2 separate regions of the Homo sapiens genome follow, and region 2 is linked to region 1. Evidence: promoter capture Hi-C in 16 types of primary human blood cells and fetal thymus (Javierre and others, 2016). All regions are on one chromosome and are shown on one strand. Each heading gives the region's core, a stretch centred on a gene start or on the middle of the fragment in contact. The rest is flanking DNA. Distances are from core to core; before and after follow the strand shown.

Region 1 (6,562 bases), core at 1,746-4,245:
ATGTAAATAAAATTCTCTCAGTGAAATTCTCCTGCAGTTAAATGAGGCTCAATTATACACTACTAATTTAAGCCTGCATACTGCATTCCAACTGTATACCTAATTACCCTATTTAGTTTGTTAATGATCAGATCTTTGTGCAGATATTCAAGTCTGTCACTAATCTTTGCTCTAGTTAGATTTCTAGTTGTTTAAAATAATGAATCCTTAGAAAGAATATAATTGTATAATTCCTTTACTTTTAAATGAATCACTTCAAGAATTTTTTATTAAAGAACCAAAGAAGCTCGTAAAACTTATAAATTGTATTTATTTATTTATACGATGAACAAGATGGTTTTGGCCACTGACATTTGAAAGCAAATATTTCAGTTGGGAACACAGACAAAAAGAGTACATTGACAAAGAAAATAAATCCACTCTCATAAATGCATTTACATGAATTGAGAAACAGAAGTTGACTCTAGTAAAGAGAAGAGCTGTTTAGATGGTGGGGGTTTGGAGTGGGGTGTGTATGTAAGGATTTCTGAGGACGTGCACTTCAGCAGAGCCACAGAAGGTAGGAAGATAAGAAGGGATTATTCATGGATAAGTAGAGCTAAGAACAAGGTTAAAGGAAAAGTATGTTTGAGGCGGGAAAAACTGTGGCATATCCAAGGAACTGACACAGGATATGGTTTGAAAATAGAACTGAGGCCGGGCGCGGTGGCTCGCGCCTGTAATCCCAGCACTTTGGGAGGCCGAGGCGGGCGGATCACAAGGTCAGGAGATCGAGACCATCCTGGCTAACACGGTGAAACCCCGTCTCTACTAAAAATGCAAAAAATTAGCCGGGCGTGGTGGCGGGCGCCTGTAGTCCCAGCTGCTCGGGAGGCTGAGGCAGGAGAATGGCGGGAACCCGGGAGGCGGAGCCTGCAGTGAGCCGAGATCGTGCCACTGCACTCCAGCCTGGGCGACAGAGCGAGACTCCGTCTCAAAAAAAAAAAAAAAAAAAAAAGAAAATAGAACTGATAGGACATAGAACTCGCCTGAATGCCAGGATGAGGCAAAGGCGATGAGGACCAAGGTGGCTGCTAGGTCTTGGTGAAGAGCCCTGAACAGGTGAAGAGTCCTCCTGCCAGGAATAAGAACCACGGGGTGTGGCACTGGCTGTCCATGGCTGACTTATTTTGGACTTTGGGGAATTGAAAGTAGCCCTTTATAGAGATATGGAAAGGGGAAGGAAGAGAATGCTATTGGATGTGCTCGTTGTATCAGGCGGACTCATGTTTAGAAGAGGTACATCAGCATTATTTACTGTCCCACAAGATTTCTGCATTTTGGGGCTGGAAGGGAATGTGTATTTCAGGTTGACTGTCTGTTCCAGTTGTGGGTGCACAATACAGTGCTGATTAAAAAGCAACACATACAAAAAGGAAAAAATAAGTGAAGGAAGGTCAGAGCACGGCACTTCAACCCACAGTGACTATGCTTACCTGGTCTGTGTTAGCAACCCAAAAGGAATTTAAGACACTGGGCTTATTGGCAAAACACATTGAAAATTAACTGTAAAGTTTGTCTACCTGATACAGATGGCATAGGATTATGGGAAAGAATCTGGAAAAATAGGAACCACCATAAAGAATGAAACTAACACTATGTTGTGGCCACTTAATATTATGGGATAATGGTTTTTCACACTTTGGGTTCACCTACTAATAGGTTGTGAAATCAGTTTCATGGATTGCAGCTTTACTTTTTAAAAAAATGAAATAAAAGAGCATAGAATGTATCAGTGTGTATCAAATAGTGGTGATAAATATTCTGCAGCTTGTTTCAGTACACCTGTGCATACATAAAGTTATGTGTGTGTTTGTATATTTATGTGTGTATTTATGTGTATGCATTACTGAGTTCTAAGATAAAATGTCTTTATTCTATGTATCTCTTACTGTGAGTCAGAGCAAAAAATGTTTGAAGAGCCTTTTTCAACATCTTAGTGATGGAATTGTTACTTTTCTGACTAGGCTTCCGTTTCAAAGCAAGGCTAATCGTCTTTTAGCATCAGCTGGTATACCTTGGATTCTTAAAGTTCTCTCTTTAAATATTTCTGCATTTTAAATTAAAGATTCCTGCTTTAGCAAGTCCCCTAGTTCTTATTCCTGGTAGGGGGACTCTTCACCTGTTCAGGGCTCCTCACCAAGACCTAGCAGCCGCCTTGGTCCTCATCTCCTTTGCCTCATCCTGACATTCAGGCCAATTCTATGTCCTATCAGTTCTATTTTCAAAGTATATCTTGTATCATTTCCTTGGACATGACACATTTTTTCCCACCTCAAACACATGCTTTGAGACCAGCAAGTCTATAAGGCCATAGGCTTGGTTGCATTTATAATGGGAATAGCAGAGAAAGCAGTTTATTTTTTTAAAACTGCAACATCATTTGAAGGTCTTGGATTACATTTGTTTCCCAATGACACGTGATGATGTCAAAGGAAACTATAATGAGTTTACTGAGCTATCCATACAAATGTACATGCAAATATGTATACTTACAAGAACACGCAAGGGTAGAAACCATGTCAGATGCGGTCCCTCGTGTCACTCCCACTCCACTGCCTTTTGGTTTCAAATAGTCTGACCCCATGAGAATCTTTGAGACTGTCTTTCATGTCACAGAGCCTTGCACTGTGAGAGTAACTCAATTCCCTAAATGACTTCCCCAGATCTAGCTTATCACAAACTCCATTGCCTTGCAATAACCTTTGTAACAAAATGGTATTAATAAAATCATGTAGCAACTGCCCATCATATGCAGACCTAGTAATGGAATCCAAGTTACCTAAAAGGCTAATTCCTAATGAGAAGGAAAGGAAACATACCATAAAGTAAAAGTGCAAACAATTGCAAAACAGAGGCAAACAGTGTCAGTTGGATATACGTAAGCGCTGATGTAAAGAGAGATTGGAAATGATATATCTGGCTGGGCAGGTCACTCATGCCTGTAATCCCAGCACTTTGGGAGGCTGAGGCAGGCAGATCACCTAAGGCCAGGAATTCGACACCAGCCTGGCCAACGTGGCAAAACCCGTCTCTACTAAAAATACAAAAATTAGCCGGGCGTGGTGGTGTGCGCCTGGAATCCCAGCTACCCAGGAGGCTGAGGCAGGAGAAATGCTGGAACCCGGGAGGCAGAGGCTGCAGTGAGCTGAGATCATGCCACTACTGCACTCCAGCCTGGGTGACACAGCAAGACTCCCTCTAAAAAAAGAAAAAAAGAAAAGAAAAGAAAAGAAAATGATATATCCATGATGAATTAAAATGGAGTGGAACCCACTGATGGTATGCAGCTGATAAGACGCTATAGAGAAATGATATCCGGACACATGGTGAGACTTTTTCTCCTCTGTAAATCTCAATTCTTGTGATTCTTTCAAAGGGAAAGCCACAGAAGGTACCAGTTATCCACTCACTGACTTAGGTGCCTCCACTAGAATTCTCAGCACGTTTTTGCAGAAGTAAGTTATCTTCACTATTGCTCTAACACTTCTTAGTCTCCTTTTTCTTTCTTTTCTTTTTTTTTAGACAAAGGAAAAGTAAACCGCTGGTTTAGAGTCTTTGGAAGGCAATTGTATCTGACTAGAATTTAATATTATTGTTTTTCTTTCATTGTATTGCATTTATCTGTATGGCTAGTTAAACTGATTTTCCATTTAAAAGTAGTAATGCATTTTTTTATAATTACATTGTTTTAAGTAAACAAGAATTATTCAAAGGACAAAAACACTAGCACAGATGGCATTCAATGATTGCAGATATCATAAAGATAGTTCATGAATGACAAAGATTTGAGAAGTACTGTGTTCACGATGCTTCCTGGAAGAGGTGGGTTATACAGTGTTTCTTAGAGAAAGGGATAGGGGTCTACTGCTAGGAGGGAAAGATGAAGCTACTTAGGGGGACTAGGAAACACGCAGTTGGCCTGCCCTCTGCTTGGAGATCACAGCCAAGGAAACACAGGAGAGGCACCCCCTGGAGGAGCTCCGTGGGCTGCAGGGCTGACGTGGCCCAGGTAAGTGGGAGTTCAGGGAGGCCCACAGGTTGGTGCTAGGATAGTGGCAGATGATTTTCATTGTCAGACTGTGAGACAAAAGGTAGACATAAGGGAGGCAGAGGTGAAATCGGGATGGTTAAAACAGAGAATGCTGAGAGCAGAGCAAGGCAGTTGCTAAAGCTGTTACTAAAACTGGACAGCAGAAGGCCTGGCGTGGTGGCTCACAGCTGTAATCCCAGCACTTTGGGAGGCCTAGGTGGGTGGATCATCAGAGGTCAGGAGTTAGAGACTAGCCTGACCAACATGGTGAAACCCCATCTCTACTAAAAATACAAAGTTAGCCAGGCATGGTGGCCCATGCCTGTAATCCCAGCTACTCGGGAGGCTGAGGCAGGAGAATTGCTTGAATTTGGGAGGTGGAGGTTGCGGTGAGCTGAGATCGCACCATTGCTCTCCAGCCTGGGCAACAAGAGCGAAACCCCATCTCAAAACCACAACAACAACAACAGGACAACAGAGATGGACGACGGATCGGGAAAGCCAACCAGACAGCGTGAGGCCAGGACGGAAAGAGGCACAGGGAGCTCTGCTCAGTGTCGCTACAGGGGATCTCTCAGGCTCACAACGGGCCACTCCTCTAGGGAAGTTCTGGTCTCATCATGATCCTTGTTTGGTCTCACTCCCCATGTCCTTCTCTGTCCCTCCTCCAACTGCCATTTATTTATTTAACTGAAAAAGTACCAATCACCCACATAGGCATGACATACTCATCCATGTACCCATTTCTTAAAATTGATCATTGTTAACATTTGGTGTAATTTGCTTTATTTATTTTTAATGAAATAAATAAAACTTTACAGAAAATGCTTTATTTTTCTCTTTGTTCCCTCCCCATCCTATATTTTTCTCCTAAAAAACCCTATTATCAGAAATATTAGTGTGTATTCCCAGTTTCGACTTTTTATTTTATTACACACACACTCCCACACATAGCTGTGACAATGAACTTCACATAGTATGGTTCTGTATTTTCTCTTTGTTTTTCAAACTTACATAAGTATTTTACTATTTCTCATGGAAAAACTCACTTTTCCCATCCAACGTTATGTTTCCTTAAGATCTCTCTATGTTGATATAAAGAAATCTAGCTCATTCTTTTTAATGAAAATAAAGTATATTTTATGAATGTAACTCATGCTAACCATGGCAATAAAAGCTCCATCAAGCATGCATTTAGTTCTGTATTTTGTTCAATGCTGTATTCCCAGTCCCTAGAACACATACAGAGTAGTGGTTCATTAAATGTTTGTCAAATGAATGAATCAATGAATCCACTCATTTCACTGCTGACAAGCAGTAAAACTGACGTCAATTTTGCACAAACTTTTACAAGATTCCTCGGCACCCACATAAGAGACGTACTAATACGTCTACCTAGAAATATATGTATTGCATTGACAGAATTTGTGTTTTTGGTTTTGTGGGATTCTCTGAAATGCTATGTGACTTCTTAAGGGCTTGGCACATGCTGTAGGCTGTTAATGTGGCTGAGGGGTTTGGCTCTCACATGACCACTGCAGACAGGCTGTGTGCCACCTGCTCACTTTGTAAGCTTCTCGTCCCCCTCTGACAGCTCTTTGCAATGCTTTGTCTTTTCTTCAAAACTTTATATATATTTTTTTAAGAAGAAAAATCTGATAAGCCTTTGTCAGAAAAAAGTGGGTGAATTCTTCCAAGTAATAAAATAATGCAAAGTATAAAATAAAGAGGATAAACCGATTCACAGCTAGGAATACAAGGTATCTTTGGCCAATGGGATTTTGCCTTCGTGCTTTCAAGCACAGTCACTTTCTGTGCAAGGTTGTAAGTGTTCACCATGAGCTTTAGGTGGATCTAGCCCTGTAACAACAAATCACTAGTACCGCTGGATCAAGATTAGTGTACATTTGTGTTTAAGCAATATCATGGTCCATTAATTACGTGCACTGCAATTTAATGGCCTTGCAGATCTTAACACTGTGCTTTTATTTCATTTTTGCCTAGGCCCGCCTCACCGCTAAATATAAATGGAATGAAGCACTTGAAAACAAAAAGTATAAAAATGTGTATATTTTTCATTGCAAAGCAATTCTTAATGGATTTTGTAAACTTTGCAAAATTAAAAGGAAAATACTGTCAGGACACTAAGCTTCTTCCCAGGTTTTCAGATTCCGAAGCTTTAGTTGAGGGCAGTTGAAGAACCTACAAGGCTGTTCCGGAGACCTTTGTGAATGTGAATGAACGCCCTTTGCTTCAAAGGCACCTGCCTGGTGCTGAGGAATCGGCCTTGGAGCCGCCGCCCACGCCGGGCCGCTGCGGGAGAACACTCGGTGCCCCCTGCTGGTCAGACCGAGGCCCCGCAGCGTGGCACAGAGAGCTCCACGGCACGCGTGGTGTGGGAACTGCAGGCTGAAAAACGCTCCCAGAAATGAAATAGTGAGTGCCCGTGGATCTGGCACCACCTTAACACTTCCTCGTTAATAACACATG
Region 2 (6,898 bases), core at 2,068-4,567, 700 kb after region 1:
GTGAGCCCGGAGCCCAGCAAAGCCTGGGCAGGAGCACCACCAGCTGTGGACATTTCCAGCTGAAGAAGGGGAACCCAAAGAATCCTGTGTCAGCATCATGACCTGGCGTGACCCGTGCCTCCTCTTTCCTCAGGATTCTCTGGAGGTCACCTCTTCTCCCCTGAGTGGAGTTCCTGCTTGCCGTGAACCACCAGTGCACCCCGGACTAAGCTCACTCCTCAGCTCCCCTCTTCCTTCCTCTGGCCCACGCTGACCTCTTTCTGGTCTTTATTGCCCAGAAAGAAACCAATAGGCAGGGCACGGTGGCTCACGCTTGTAATCCCAGCACATTGGAAGGCCGAGGCAGGCGGATCACCTGAGGTCAGGAGTTTGACACCAGCCTGGCCAACGTGGTGAAACCCCGTCTCTACTAAAAATACAAAAATTAGCCGGGCATGGTGGCAGGCACCTGTAGTCCCAGCTACTCAGGAGGCTGAGGCAGGAGAATCATAGGAACCTGGGAGGCGGAGGTTGTAGTGAGCCAAGATCATGCCACTGCACTCCAGCCTGGGCAACAGAGCGAGACTCCAACTCAAAGAAAAAAAAAAAAAGGAAACCAATAATTTGTGGAAGGATCAAAGAAGGTTGGAGGACTACAAGGTCCTCTAGAGAGATCCTTTAAAAGTATTTTTTTTTTTTTGAGAGGGAGTCTCACTCTGCTCTGTCACCCAGGCTGGAGTGCAGTGGTGCAATCTCGGCTCACTGCAACCTCCACCTCTCCAGTTCAAGCGATTCTCCTGCCTCAGCCTCCGAGTAGCTGGGTTTATAGGCACCCGCCACCACACCCGGCTAATTTTTGTATTTTAGTAGAGATGGGGTTTCACTATGTTGATCAAGCTGGTCCCGAAGTCCTATCCTCAAATGATCCGCCCACCTCAGCCTCCCAAAGAAAAATATCCTTTTAACAATAGAAACTACGGGTCCATCCCTGTATTATTCTGCTTCGGCTGCTGTAACAAACAACCACGGAGCAGGGGAGCTTACGCAGCAGACACTGACTGTCTCAGCATTCTGGAGGCTGGAGGTCCAAGATCAAGGGGTCAGCAGGTCGTTTCTCCTGAGCCCCCCTCCTTGGCTTTGCAATGGCCACCTTCTCCCTGCATCTTTACAGGGTCATCCCTCTGTGTCCTGATCTCTTCTTACAAGGATTCCAGTCAGACTGGGTTAAGGCCCACTCTGATGGTCTCACGTTTTACTCAATTGCCTCTTAAAAGACTATACCTCCAAATATAGTGACATCTGAGGTACTGGAGGTCAGGACTTCAACATATGAATTGGGGACCAGAGAACGGGGAGGACAATTCAGCCCCTAACAATCCCCAAGCAAAATGTAATACAAAAAAAATAGGCTGGGCGCGGTGGCTCACGCCTGTAATCCCAGCACTTCAGGTGGCCAAGGAAGGTGGATCACGAGGTCAGGAGATGGAGACCATCCTGGCTAATAGGATGAAACCCCTTCTCTACTAAAAATACAAAAAAATCAACCAGGCGTGGTGTCACGCACCTGTAGTCCCAGCTACTCAGGAGGCTGAGGCAGCAGAATCACTTGAACCCAGGAGGCGGAGGTTGCAGTAAGCCGAGATCATGCCATTGTACTCCAGCCTGGTAATAGAGCGAGACTCTGTCTAAAAAACAAAAACAAAAACAAAACAAAAAACAAACAAACAAAAAAACCTGAATTGTCTTCAGAGAGCCCCCTGGGCAGTGTGCCTGAGTTATGCAAAGCTGTAGGTCGAATGTAGCACAACCTTCTAGAGAGTCCGTTTTACCTCCCAACATGTTGAGCCTAGAAAAAAAAAATTGTAAACAGCATATTTTGGAGAATTCAAATTTTGAATAAAATTTTACTATTAAAACACAAGACTTCAGAACAAAATTTGTACTGGCCTCAGGCCATCCTAAGCTGGGTTTTTAGTGGCATAAGTTCTTGGGTAAAACTACGCAAAAGAAAAACTACGTATAGTTTTGTGAACACTATGTTGGTGGAGGAGTTCAGAGAGGCCCTGAGTCTTTCTCCAAAGAGTACTCATTTCCAGTGTCCTCGTTTCTTAATGCGTGTTATTTTCATAAGCAAAACAGAGGTCCCAGAGCTCCCTGGGGTGTAAATGATGTTGAAGGATTGTTGGGGTTGAAATAGGCTGAAATTTTTCTACTCAGGCAGAGTTCATGTCTTAAATCATATCCCCAGGGTGCAGTTAATTTATTTTAATTGATGGGAGCTTTTTACGTTTTCTGAAGAGCTCCATCTGAGAATGAGGTTGATGATGGAGGCAGAACCAGCCAACTCTTACCGAGAGGGACACATTTCTACAGGCATTTGTGATGGAATCTGACAGAAACCCTCTCAGAAGAATGCATCCCCAATTAAACTTTGTTATGACTAAAACCCACGTTTTTAAAAAAATTAGCCTAAGAGGGAATGCATGATACTTTTATGGAAATGTTTAAGTAATTAGTAGATATTAGTAATATGAATAAATGGAAATTTATGCCCTGATCCTTGTGCAAATAGCATAATATAGTATACCTAATATAGTAGATACACCAATTAACCAGCTTAATATTGTAGATATACCAATTATCTCTAAATTAATCTGTATATTTAATGCAATCTTAATATTTCAGGTGATTTTTAAATGAATTCAACACAATAATTCCAAAATTACATATAAAAAGCCACAAGTGACTAAACTGATTTTGAAAATGAAGACTAAAGATAAGGATCACGGTGGACTTAACTTGATAAAACTATTGTAATAAGAGCAATATGGTTCTGCACAGATTTGGACAAATAGATCAATGAGACCCCTGAAGGAGCTCAGGGATAGTCTTGCACCAACTTTGTGTATAATGAAGGCAGCACCATAGTACAGTGCAAAGAGAAGAGATTGTTTAGTAGATGATTTGCAAGAAATTGAATCACTATGGAGAAAAATAAAGCTTTATTCCCAGCTGACGTCATCAAAACATTTAAACTCCAGACAGCTTAAAAACCTAAAAGTTGAAAGTAATTGCAAAGATATAGGAAAGGTCTTTGTGACCCAAAATTAGCACAAGATTGTTTAAACAAGTACCAAAAAGAACAAGCCATGAAGTTATTTATTAATGGGTCAATTCAATGCAGCAAAATTAAGGCTTTTGGTTTAGGGACAAATGCTAAAAACTAAGTTACCAGACACATGACAGATTAGGAGATTTGCCTCATCAAAAATCAACAGCATATTAATATTTAGAATGTACACTCTTATAAATCAGCAAGAAGAAAATTTATAGAAAATTGAAATTCTATAGAAAACAAAAACATGACTAAGAACCTACAGAAGGGTATGTGTAAGCAGGTATAGAAATCAGTGGTGATCAAAGTAACACAAATAAAACCTACTATGGTTTATTTGTGATGCTATAACAAAACACCTGAGATTGGATAATTTATGAAGAACAGAAATTTCTTTCTCACAGTTCTGGAAGCTAAGATCCAGACACCAGCTGTTTCAGCATCTGATGGGATCCCTGTCTCTGCCTCCAAGATGGCCCTTTTGTTGCTGTACCCTCTGCAGGAAAGGAATGCTGTGTCCTCACATAACAGAAGAGATAGAAGGAGGAAAATTGGCCACCTCAAGCTTCTTATAAGGCACCAATCTCATTTCACGAAGGGAGAGCCCTCATAGCCTAATCACCTCCTGAAGGCCCCACCTCGTAATACTACTGTTTGGGCAGTTTTGTTTCAACATGACTTTTGGAGAGACCCTATCATTCAAACTAGTGCAAAATTACAATGGCAGACCACTTTATATACGTCATGAATAATATCAAGAATTGGAAAAGATGGGAGGAGGCAGAAACCCACTCTACGATGCTCCTTCTACAAGGCACATGAATACTTCAGAACACATAATAAACACTTTGGAGAGAGCGGCTATGAGAGGTGTAGGAGAGGCAGAGCTGGTACAAGGGGGAAGGGCAAATAAAAAGGAGCCCTGCACACCACAGTGATGCCAGTGTGCCATGATCTTAGGGCTATGAGGACCCAATTCTGCCCTAAAGATCAAAAGAACAACTGGAGGAATTTTATACACGATTGATAGTTATCAATGATGTAAACATTTCCTTAATTACAAGCATCACAGACTGCCAGATCCACCCAAATCCCTCTGTGTCTTCCTAGGTATATGAGAAATCTCTACACTTCCTACCTACCTTCTTTTGCAGTTTGGTTGGGACATCTGACTGGGGTCTGGTCAATGAATGTGTCAGAGGTGTTTAAACCAGAGTGACTCCATCTGGAATAGGGACTGGGTAAAATAAGGCTGAGACTTGCTGGGCTGCATTCCCAGGAGGTTAGGCAGGATGAGATAGGAGGTCGGCACAAGATACAGTTCATAAAGACCTTGCTGATAAAACAGTTTGCAGTAAAGGAGCTGGCCAAAACCCACAAAACCAATAAGGCAAGGAAAGTGACCTGTGGTCATCCTCACTGCTCATGCATTAACATGTTAAAAGACACTCTCTCCAGCACCATGACAGTTTACAAATGCCAAGGCAGTGTCCAAAAGTTACCCTATATGGTCTAAAAAGGGAGGAACCCTCAGTTCTGGGAATTGCCCACCCCTTTCCTGGAAAGCTCATGAATAATCCATTCCTTGTTTAGCATATAATCAAGAAATCACCATAAAAGCGGGCAAACAGCAGCCCTCAGGGCGGCTCTCCCTATGGAGTAGCCATTTTTTATTCCTTTACTTTCTTAGTAAACTTGCTTTCACTTGACTCCATGGATTCACCCCAAATTCTTTCTTGAATGAGACCCAAGATCCCTCTCTTGGGGTCTGCATCAGGACCCCTTTCTGGTAACAAGTGTGGGTGAAATGCCGCTTCCACCTGGCTCTGAAGCATCTCATGTTGTCTTCCATGCTCCATCTCTCCCAACCATGAGGCTAAACATGAAGAACTCTAAGACGGCAGAACCACTTGAAGAAAATGTCAATGAAAACATATCTGAAACAGGTCTCAGTCGAGAAGTTTATTTTGCCAAGGTTAAGGATGTGCCTGTGACACAGCCTCAGGAGATCCTGATGACATTTACCCACGGTGGTCAGAGCACAGCTTGGTTTTATACATTTTATGGAGACATAAGGCACCAATCAATATATGTAAGATATGCATTGGTTTGATCCAGAAAGGCAAGGACAACTGGAAGCAAGGTCTTTCAGGCCATAGGTGGATTCAAAGATTTTCTGGTTGGCAATTGGGTAAAAGAGTTATTATCAATAGAAAGGAATGTCAGGTTTATGATAACAGTTGTGGAGACCAAGGTTTTATTATACAGATGAAGCTTCCAGGTAGCAGGCTTCAGAGAGAATAAATTGCAAATGTTTCTTATCAGACTTAAAGTCTGTTATATCAGTAATTACAAAAAGGAGTAGGGGATAATGAGGCATGTCAGCTCCCACTTCCCATCATGGCCTGAACTCATGGTTCAGGTTAACTTTGGAATGCCTTTGCCAAGACAAGGCGTCTATTGAAATGGTTAGGGGACTTAGATTTTTAATTTTGATTAAGAAAAGGAACCTGGATTCTTCAATTAGCACATGTAGGAGAACCACCCAAGAAAGCCACCTAACCTCATTAGACTCTTGTGAGTAAGAAATAAAATGACTTTGAGCCACCGGGATTTAGGAGTTGTTTGTTTTAACACTTAGTCTCTCCAGACTAGAATAGTACTCTGTCAAAGGTAGTTTCAGCCTCATCATTGAAAATAAATAAATAAGGCCTAGCTGCATACCTAGCACCAGGTGAGTTTGGAATCATGAGAGACTAAGAGAAATTCACGCTATGATGATTCAATTTTTAGGAAGCAAATTAGAAGTGTCTCTTCCTTCACACCATGGCAACGCTCCAGCATGCAGTCCTCATTAATAGAGCATGGGCTTCTGAGGCTGAATAGAGCAGAAAGGCATTTGCTAACCCAGTCTTCCTCAAGAATTCCTCTCATAATCCAAAACATTCTCCAGTGAAGAAGAACTCCTAAAGAAACAGCAGAAGTAGGAGATACTTGAAATTTATTTTGACTTTTTTTTGGTAGTGGGATTGTTTTGTTTTGTTTTAGATTCAGGGGGTATGTGTATTGCATAATGCTAAAGTTTGAGCTCTCAGTGAACCCCTCACTCAAATAGTGAGCATAGCACCCAATAGACAGTATTTCAACCCTTACCTCCCAGTCACTCTCCCCTCTTTTGGAGTTCTCAGCGTCTATTATTTCCATCTTTATGTCCATGTGTACCCATTTTTTTTCTCCCACTTACAAGTGAAAACATGCAGTATTTGACTTTCTGTTTTTGAGGTATTTCACTTAGGACAATGGTCCCCAGCTCCATCCATGTTGTTGAAAAGGACATGATTCCATTCCTCTTTATGGCTGCATAGTATTCCATATACACATATGTACCACATTTTCTTTATCCAGTCAACCATTGATGGACACAGGTTGATTCCATGACTTTGCTATTGTGAATAGTGCTGCAATAAACATATGAGTGCAGGTGTCTTTTTGATAAAATGATTTCTTTTCCTTTGGGTATATACCAGTAGCAGGATTTCTGGGTCAAATGGTAGTTCTATTTTTAGTTCTTTGAGAAATCTCCATACTGTTTTCCATAGGAGTTGAACTAATTTACAGTCCCGCCAACAGTGTATAAGCATTTCCTTTTCTCCACATCCTTGCCAACATCTGTTAGTTTCTTTTGACTTTTTAATAATAACCATTCTGACTGGTGTGAGATGGCATTTCTCTAATGACTAGCAATGTGGAACAGTTTTTCATTTGTTGGCTGCCTGTATGTTTCCTTTTGAGAAGTGTCTGCTC

What was found. The method cuts DNA at HindIII sites, captures the fragments that hold promoters and counts their contacts. A CHiCAGO score of 5 or more calls a contact.
Region 2: a fragment that was not itself captured here is called in contact with the fragment with the promoter of DSCAM-AS1 in region 1 in 1 of 17 cell types (M0 macrophages); the score reaches 5.6 in M0 macrophages.

What each region holds. Positions count from the first base shown.
Region 1 is chr21:40,380,088-40,386,649 of GRCh38, forward strand. It overlaps DSCAM-AS1 (DSCAM antisense RNA 1), which reads left to right and starts at 2,996. Exons shown (of 2, transcript NR_038900.1): 1 at 2,996-3,368; 2 at 4,492-5,271. The region is part of intron 3 of DSCAM (DS cell adhesion molecule); the gene reads right to left. The HindIII fragment of the contact is 5,736 bases long and covers 1-5,643 here.
Region 2 is chr21:41,076,350-41,083,247 of GRCh38, forward strand. No RefSeq gene overlaps it. Among named protein-coding and RNA genes, the nearest start is that of LINC00323, 68 kb to the right of the region's middle. The HindIII fragment of the contact is 680 bases long and covers 2,978-3,657 here.